Linked DNA regions of Homo sapiens: region 2 is linked to region 1. Evidence: promoter capture Hi-C in 16 types of primary human blood cells and fetal thymus (Javierre and others, 2016). All regions are on one chromosome and are shown on one strand. The core of a region is centred on a gene start or on the middle of the fragment in contact, and the rest is flanking DNA. Distances in the headings are between cores, read along the strand shown. Region 1 holds the start of PRXL2A (peroxiredoxin like 2A). Region 2 has its middle 280 kb from the start of LINC02655.

Region 1 (4,673 bases), core at 1,852-4,351:
AAACCATTGGCCACATTTATGGAAGGTTTTAGAAAGAGGTCCCTATTGACTTTGCTTTGCTTTGAGACACACTGTGGAAGTATAGGATTTTTTATGCTTAAAACAAATAAGAAAGAGCTGAATTCAGGGATATTGGCATATAGAGAAAATATTTGAAGCTGATCTATGCACATCTATTTTTGAGATTCACATACAAGTCTTGTTCTTGATTTCGCTTTTACCCATCCACAGAATGGTAACCTGGGCCTGACATATTGAAGTGAAGTATCAGTTTTTGCTCTATTTTCATCTTGATGCTAGCTGCTTCCTGACTGTTCCCAGCGAGCCCAGACACCACAGGGCCATAAGCTTAAAAAGATCATGTTACTTCAGTCACTGCTGAGTAGCAGACGAAGCTGAAGCCAGCTGAATCTAGAAGTGCTATGACGCTGAAAAAGTCAGGAGTCTTTACCCAGATCTGCCTCCTGCAAGCAGTGTTTTCTGCCTGCCCTATGGGACTTGTGAGGGACAGAAAAGTTTCCCAGCCCCTGTCAAGATGGTAACATTATCTAAAGTTATCACAAAGCTTCTAGTCAACCTTAATTTCTACCACCTGAAATTCAGAACCTAAGGCTATTTTACAATCTTTACAAAATTTAAATTATTTTTCTCTTAAAAGCTGGGCAGGTTGGTGGGTTTTCTTGGTTTATTCTTCAGGTTTTTTGTTTTGGTTTGGTTTTTGGTTTTAGTCCTTGAGCTTTGTAAATAAGTTTTCCTGCGCCTGCTTGCCTGTAACTTATTTTTCTGGTCTAATGACTGTTTTTTAATGAGTTCAGCCTGTGCTTTCTTGTACAAAAAGAAACGTGGGCATGTGAGGAGCATATTAATTAGCTATCAGATGTAGCCTGGTTTTTGAAGTCCAGATCTTCAGGATGTTACCGAAGTGTAAATATAAGCATGACTTTTGCACGTGATTAGTAATTACATCACAGTTAAAGCCTCAGGGGACCTTCCACCCCAGAATTCTGCTATCCTCAACCCCTGAATGGCTCTGTCATTAATGGTCAGTCTCCAAGAACTCATTTCCCAAGGAAATGACTTCCTGTTTTGTTCTAAGTGGCCTTCCCTGCAAACCCTCCTCACCTTTGAACTTCCTATTTTGGGATGGAAAGATTGACCCTTCTCCCGCTCCTCTTCACAAGGTAAGGAGAAACAAGGGAGAAGAAAGAAAGGTCCTCTGGAGAGAGATATATGTATCATACATATCTTATACATATATCATATATATCTTATATATCTCATATATATCTTATATATATCTTATATATCATATATATATATATATATATATATATATATATAAAACTACACCCGCATTGCACCAAAGTATACGAAATATTTTCTGGCCTTCAAATCATATGCCTAACTCCTGCAGGAAAACTGCATGGGCACTCAGGCTGATCTCCCTTACCCCACAACTTAGATCCACCTCTCACGTTTTCTAAGTTTATTTCCACGCTGTCCCTGGGCCAGGCTCTAGGGTCCCAGAGGTGAAGTGGAGGAATTCACAGTTTGGTTGAGGAGAGACCCCCTTGAATAGATCAAGCTCCCCAAGTGTTGCTGTAAGTTTACATGGAACATGGAGTCTGAGTGGGAAGTCAGGGAGGTGAATCACGGAAGCCTTTGGACTTTGTACACCTGTGGGCAGCTCCCAGATGAAGGGGGGAAGGTGTTGCAGGCAAATGACCACCTTTGACGGGCGGACATCGGCCTGCTTTGCCACTTCACCTTATGCTGCCCTGTGACTGGTCTTTGCACTGTGTCACCGATATGTCTTTTTTTTTTTTTTTTGAGACGGAATCTCACTCTGTCACCCAGGCTGGAGTGTAGTGGCACCATCTCGGCTCACTGCAACCTCCACCTCCGGGGTTCAAGCTATTCTCCTGCCTCAGCCTCTTGAGTAGCTGGGACTACGGGTGCGCGCCACCACACCCGGCTAATTTTTGTATTTTTAGTAGAGACGAGGTTTTGCCATGTTGGTCAGGCTGGTCTCGAACTCCTGCCCTCAAGTGATCTGCCCGCCTTGGCTTCCCAAAGTGTTGGGATTACAGGCATGAGACACCGAGCCCGGCCAACCACTAATATGTATCGTGAGTCAGCTCTGCTGTCTCTGAAAGTCCAACCTCCTACTTTTTGTTTTTTGTTGTTAAGACAGGGTCTTTTTTTTGTTTTTTAAAGACAGGCTGGAGTGCAGTGGCGCGATCTGGGCTCACTGCAACCTCCGCCTCCCGGGTTCAAGCGATCCTCCCACCTCAGCTCCAGAGTAGCTGGAAATACAGGCACGCGCCACTATGCCTGGCTAGTTTTTGTTTTTTACGTAGAGATGGAGTCTTACTATGGTGCCCAGACTGGTCTTGAACTCCTGGGCTCAAGCGATCCTCCCAAAGCCCTGAGATTACAGGCGTGAGCCAGCGCGCCGGACACAACCTCCTACTTTCATGAAAGAGTGGGCACTTCCAACAGGAGGAGTAAGTGGATGAGCGGTGTGTGACACACCCGCCTCAGCGTCGCCCGGAGTCCGCAAGGCTGCGGCTCACCGTTCTCTGCCCCATAGCTGGCATTGTGGAGTGAAAGGGAACGTGGGTGGAGGATTGAGGTTGGAAATTCTGAATCTGTACATACAGCTTGAAGGGGCTCATCGAATGTGTCGGTCCTTTAGATTCCCCCTGCCCATGGAGGTTAAAAAAAAAAAAAAAACCTATCAAAAGAGCTATTCAAAACCAGGCTGAAGATTGGAAGGAAGTTGGCCAGCCTCGGCTGCAGGACAGGTGCTTCCAGGCTCCATTAGGGGTGTCCAGCGCCTTCTTTTGCCCTAGGCAGCGCCCTGAAGAACGCGTCGGGGCCTCGGTTCGCGGACTTGAGGAGTGGACCGACCGAGCGCTGTGCGTAAAAGGACCGCTGGGGCACACGCCCGAGCGCCACCGGAGCTAGGAGACCGCGGCCCGGAGGTCGGCGAGTCGGGGGCAGGCCCGGAGCTCCTCCCACGGGGGGCGGGGCGGGTCACATGGCGGTGGCGCGGTAGCGCGCGATGCAGCACAGGCTAGAGGCTGCGCAAGCGCGGGGCCCGCCCCTGGGACCCTCCGGGCCGGGCGGTTTGGCCCCTTAGCGCCCGGGCGTCGGGGCGGTAAAAGGCCGGCAGAAGGGAGGCACTTGAGGTAGGTGCTGCGCGCCGGGGCTCCGCGAGGCACGTGATGTCCGTAGGCGGGGCCTGCCGCGGCGTAGGTGGGGAAACTGAGGCAGTGCAGGGCCGGTAGGGTGGGTGCTGGGCTGGTGAGGCGCGCCCCTCGGGCCCGCGCCAACTTTCTTAGGAGCCGCCGCAGCGCTGGCGCTCCCTCCGAGGACGACGACCCTTCCGCCACCCTGCGTGGCGGCCGATGGAAAAACCCTGCGCCCAGACGTCGGAGAACGGAGACGGGGACCCGGCGCTGCTGCGGCGGGCTAGGGCCCCCTCTGTCCACGCCCGCAAGCCTTGAGTGACGCCGGTGGCGCCAACCTTCGCGAATTGTTGGGACAAAGAACAGAGGAGAGGGCCCTGCCCTGGAGCATGGGCCCGGGGGCCGCCCTGCTGGACCAGCCCCAGGTGCGGACCTGGCAGTCCTCGTCCTCGTCTCTGTGCCCGCTTAGGGTCGTGTCTTTTAAGAGGGCACGGTTTCTAGCGTTGTTCAGCGTTTCGGAGGCACCTGTTCCCCCTCTTTCCCAAGAGTCACAAACGCCTGACTTTAAATTGGGTAGAGCCCAGTTGTAAACTTAACAGCCCTGCTGAGGTCTAGGAATGAAAAGATGAACAATCTGCCCCCAGGGTTGTTGCTGGAGCGGGAGGTGAAGGCGCAGGTGGAGATGGTTAGAGGCAAAGGAAGGGAAGTCAAGGCCCAGCCGGTCCAGGGCTGTGGGAAGGAGGCACACCCGGGAGTCCACTGCCGGACCGGGGTTCCCAGCTGCTCCTGCGCCTCTTTTCCTTGCCACATCATGCTGTCTGCACAGCCCAGCAACCCAGAACTCAGCTTTTTTGTTTGTTTTATTTTAATGTATTTTCCTTTGAACCTGGCAGGTGGTTTTTCAAAAAGAAAATAATCAAGATTTGTTTTGAAAAGCATTGTGAAAAAGTCAGCTTGAATAGTCTTGAATGCTCCTGCTCGGGCCCAGCTTTGGAGAATGAGGATTGGGATTTCCACTGCAGACCCCGACTCGTTACCATACTCATTCATCAGAAAACTCTTCATTTTGTGTACAAATAACGTTTTGAGGGTAATCATTGCTCTAGAAATGAAGAATTATACATCGTATTTATTGCACTTTTTGTAAGGTACCTCACAAGGCACCTCCTATACATTTAATCCTTTGATTCTTGCAACTCTGTAGAAGGTAATTAAGGAAGCATTCCCATTTTACTGATGCAAAACAGTTCCTTGTCCAGGTTTATACAGCTTGCAAGAATTAAAGTTAGATATTATTCTTGGTGTGGGCCTTTCCTATATCCCCGTCTTTTATAAGAGCATGTCATTTAGTTGAGACCTTCTGCATTACTTCTGAAGGGGTACAAAAGACATTTCTGATGATTTTCTCATCTCGTGTCATTTAAATGGTGCTCAGAAAGTTTGGATAGGACTGGAACTCTAGGGCTCAAGCCCCAGGCT
Region 2 (4,521 bases), core at 1,010-3,509, 520 kb after region 1:
CCTATACCTAGGGTATTTCTTGAAAACATTGTAAGGCAAATGAGCAACCCGGTGCTATCTGGGGCTAAAGATTACAGTTGACACAAATAGTACACACGCTGAAAGCCTGGGAGAAAGATTCTTTGGGAAATTAGGGAAAGAATATCACCCATGTATATCAGGGACTTTTGAAAGTCACACACAAGCTTGGCATAAAACGTGTGCTCAGAAAAAAATCTGAAAAGACCCTAAGCTTTTATCTCTGGATGACCCCTAGGCTCAGCACAAACAGTTAAAGAAGGCTAAGGCAGAGTTCTAAATTGCCTGGCTAAGCATTAAATCAGTGTCCCAACACAGAGCCAATCTCCAAAGACTGGGAAAGTTTCTTTCTCTTCTTTCCTCTCTCTCTTCCTGCTTTTTCTTTCTTTATCCCAGGTGGACACGGTAAATACCCTAGCTGACCAAGCTAAAGGAACAGAGACTTCAGAGACTACACATGACAAAGAATTAGACTTTACAAAAATTATTAGAAATGTCACTAAGCAAACAACTCTACCCAAAGTAAGCAGCAAAAACAAACCCTGGAGAGGGAAGAAAAATCATATTTCTAGAGTTGCCACATTATAATATTCCAAGATGTTTGGTTTTCAACAAAAAAATAAGAAGCATGCAAATAAAAGAGGTATAGCACATGCATAGGGGAAACTACAGAAACTGTTCCTGAGAAATCACTGACATTGAATGACTTACTAGACAAAGATTTTAAGTCAACTGTTTTAAATATGCTCAAGGAGTTAAAAGAAACCAGAAGAACTATGTCTCACCAAATAGGAAATATTGACAAAGAATTATAAGTTATAGAAAGAAACACAGCAAGAATTTTGGGGCTGAGAATGATAATAAATGAAGTAAAAAATCCACTAGAGGATTTCAATAGCAGATGTGAGCAGGCAGAAGAAAGAATCAGCAAATTTGAAGGTAGGTTAATTAAAATTATTAAGAAAGAGTAGCACAAAGAAAAGAGAATGAAGATAATAAACAGAGCCTAAGAGACCCTTGGGGCACCATCCAACATATACTCAAAATGGGACTCTCAAAAGAAGAGAGAATGGGGAAATAATATTTGAAGAAATAATGACTGAAAACTTCCCAAATTTGATAGAAGACACAAAACTACATATCTAAGAAGGTCATTGAACTCCAGGATGGATAAATGCAAAGAGGTCCACACTGAGCTATGTTATGATCAAACTGTCAAAAGTTAAAAATAAAGAAAATCTGAAAGCAGCAATAGGAAAGTGACTGTCACATACCAGGTACCCTCAATGACATTGACAGCCAATTTTTAGCAGAAACTGGAAGTCAGAAGGCAGTGGGATGACATAGTAAAAGTGCTGAAGGAAAAAATATCTGTTACTCAAGAATTCCATATTCAGCAATATTCTTTTTCAACAATGGAGGGAAAGTTAGGAGAGCCTCAGATAAACAAAAGTGATGGGAGTTCGTCACTAGCAAACATGTAACACATGAAATGATAAAGAGAGTCCTTCAGGCAAAAGCAAAGACACAAGAAAGTAACTTGAAATCATATGAGAAAGAAAGAACCCTGGCAAAGGTAGCAACATATGTAAATACTAAAGCCAGTATTGTGGAATTTTTCATTTGTAACTCTTTCCATTTGTAAATGATTTAAAAGACAAATACATAAAAATTGTAAATCTATGTTAATTGGAGCACAATGAATAAAGATGTCATTTGTGACAACATAAAGGGGCAAGGGTAGCCTGTATAGAAGCAGGGATTTTGTATATTATTGAGCCTAAATTGAATTAATTAAAAATAGATTGTTATAAGTTTAAGAGGTTAATTATAATCCCCAGGTATCACTAAGAAAATAACTAGAATTTTATTGTCTTAGCTCAGCTGCTATAACAAAATACCATAAGCTGGGTGGCCCACAAACAACAGAAACTTATTTTTCACAGTTCTGGAGGCTGGTAGTTAAAATCATGGAACTAGCATGGTCAAGTTCTTGTGAGGGCCCTCTTCTGGTAGACTGCTAACTTCTTGTTGTATTCTCACATGGCAGAAAGAGCAAGCTAACTCTCTGGCTTATTCTTATATGGGCACTAATCACACTGTTTGGGCTTTACCCTCATCACATAATTACCTCTCAAAGGCCCTAATACTACCACATTGGGGTTAAATTTAAACATATTAATTTTGCAGAAACATGAACATTCAGCCAATAACAACATCTATGAGAAACCCAGAGCCAACATCATACTTCATGGTAGGAGACTGATGCTTTGCTCCTAAGATCAGGAACAAGACATGGATGTCACTCTCACCACTTCTACTTAATGTTTTCCTAGAGGATCTAGCCAGGGAAATTAGGCAAAAACAAAAATAGAAGACATTCAAAATAGAAAGGGAGAAATAAAGCTCTCTCTGTTTACAGATGACAATATCTTATATATAAAAAAATCCCAAAGAATCCACTAAAAATCCATTAGAATAAATGAATTAAGCATGATTACAAAATTTAAAAAATCGGTTGTATTTCTGTACACTGGAAATAAATAATCTGAAAATAAAATTAAGAGAAATATTTTGTTTACAACATTGAAAATAATAAAATTCTTTGTGATAAACTAAACAAGAAATGCAAAAACATGTACCCTGAAACCTGTAAAATATTGTGCAAGAAATTAAAGAAGACCTACATAAGTGGATAAACATTCCATGTTCATGAATCTGAAGATTTAACATTAAGATGGCAATAATTCCCAAATTGTTCTAACAGATTCAATGCAATCACTGTAAGAATCCTGAATTACTTATTTGTAGAAATTGACAAGCTAATTCTAAAACTTATATGGAATTCCAAGTGATCCATAACCTTGGGGGAAAAAAAGAACAAAGTGGAGGACTCATACTTTTTTTTATTTCAATAGTTACTATAAAGCAACAGTAAGCAAGGTTGTATACTGGCATTAGGATAGACGTATAGCTGAATGAAATCGAATTTAGAGTCCATACATACACCCATACATTTATGGTTGAGTGATTTTCATCAAGGGTCCTAAGACCATTAGAAGGAGAAAGAAATCTTTTCAACTAATAGTGCTGGGACAATTGGAATGTCACATGCAAAAGAATGAGGTTGGACCCCTACCTTATACCATATGCAATAATTAACTCTACATGGACCAGATTCCTAAATGTAAGAGCTAAACTGTAAAATTCTTATGATAAAACGTAGCGGTAAATCTTCCTGACCTTGAATTTGGCAAAATATTCTTGGATATGACACTAAAAGCATGAGCAATGAGAGAAGAAATAAGCTAGACCTAATTGCAATTAAAAACTTTTTGCTTCAAAGGACACCATCAAAAAAGTGAAAAGACAACAGAATGGAAGTAAATATTTGCAATCTGATAATCTATACCTAAAAAAATTTAAAAATTTTGTCAATTAATAATAAAAAGACAATCAAGTTAAAATACAATCAAATTATTTGAATAGAAATATCTGCAAGAAAGACCACAAATGGTCAATAAACAAAGGACACTCAACATCATTCGTCATCAGGTAAATACAAATAAGACCACAATGAGGTACCACTTTACACCCCCTTGATGGTTGTAATCAGAAAGTCAGATAAAAACAAATGTTGCTGAAGAGTTGAAGAAATTGGAACCTCATATACTGTCGAGTATGTACAATGGTGCAGCCACTTTGGAAAACAATCTGGCAGTTCATCAAATGATTAAAGACAGACTTTCTATATGATCCAGAAATTCCAATCCTAGGTGTGTACCCAAGAAGAGTAAAAACATATGTGCACATAGAAACTTGTATACAAATACTTATAGCAGCATTATTCATAATTTCCAAAAGGCAGAAGGAACCCAAAATGAATGAACAAAATATTCTTTAGTCATAAAAATAATAAAGAACTGATACATGTTACAACATGAATAAACCTTGAAAACATTATATTAAGTGAAAGAAGTCAGTCACAAAAGAGCACATATTATATGAATCCATTTATATGAAAGTTTTAAATAGTGAAACCTATAGAGTTGGAACATAGTAGTTGCTTAGGCTTGGGTGTGGAGCAGGGGAACACAGGATGAAAGTAGGATGATAGCTAAAGGGGATAGAGTTTCTTTCTTGAGGTCATAAAAATGTTATAAATTTGACTCTGGTGATAATTAAACATATCTGTAAAATGTACTTAAAACCATTGAGTTGTACAGTTTAAATGGGAAAACTGTACAGTGTATGAATTATATCTCAATAAAGCTTTAAAAAAAGAAGAAATAGAAAATATAAATAGACCTATAATTGAAAATGAGATTGAACCAGTAGTCAAAAATCTCATAACAAAGAAAAGTCTTGAACCAGATGGCCTGCCTTGTGAATTGTATGACTCGTTTTAAGAAGAATTGACACAAATCTTTGTCGAATTCTTCCAAAGAATAGAAAAGGAAAAACTTCCTAACTCATTCCATGAGCTCAGCATTACCCTAATGC

Evidence for each region. The method cuts DNA at HindIII sites, captures the fragments that hold promoters and counts their contacts. A CHiCAGO score of 5 or more calls a contact.
Region 2: a fragment that was not itself captured here is called in contact with the fragment with the promoter of PRXL2A in region 1 in 1 of 17 cell types (M2 macrophages); the score reaches 7.4 in M2 macrophages.

The regions. Positions count from the first base shown.
Region 1 is chr10:80,405,450-80,410,122 of GRCh38, forward strand. PRXL2A (peroxiredoxin like 2A) reads left to right here and starts at 3,102. Exons shown (of 6, transcript NM_032333.5): 1 at 3,102-3,194. RefSeq lists a silencer at 2,881-3,170 and an enhancer at 3,456-4,049. The HindIII fragment of the contact is 7,614 bases long and covers 564-4,673 here.
Region 2 is chr10:80,927,589-80,932,109 of GRCh38, forward strand. No RefSeq gene overlaps it. Among named protein-coding and RNA genes, the nearest start is that of LINC02655, 280 kb to the left of the region's middle. The HindIII fragment of the contact is 4,058 bases long and covers 231-4,288 here.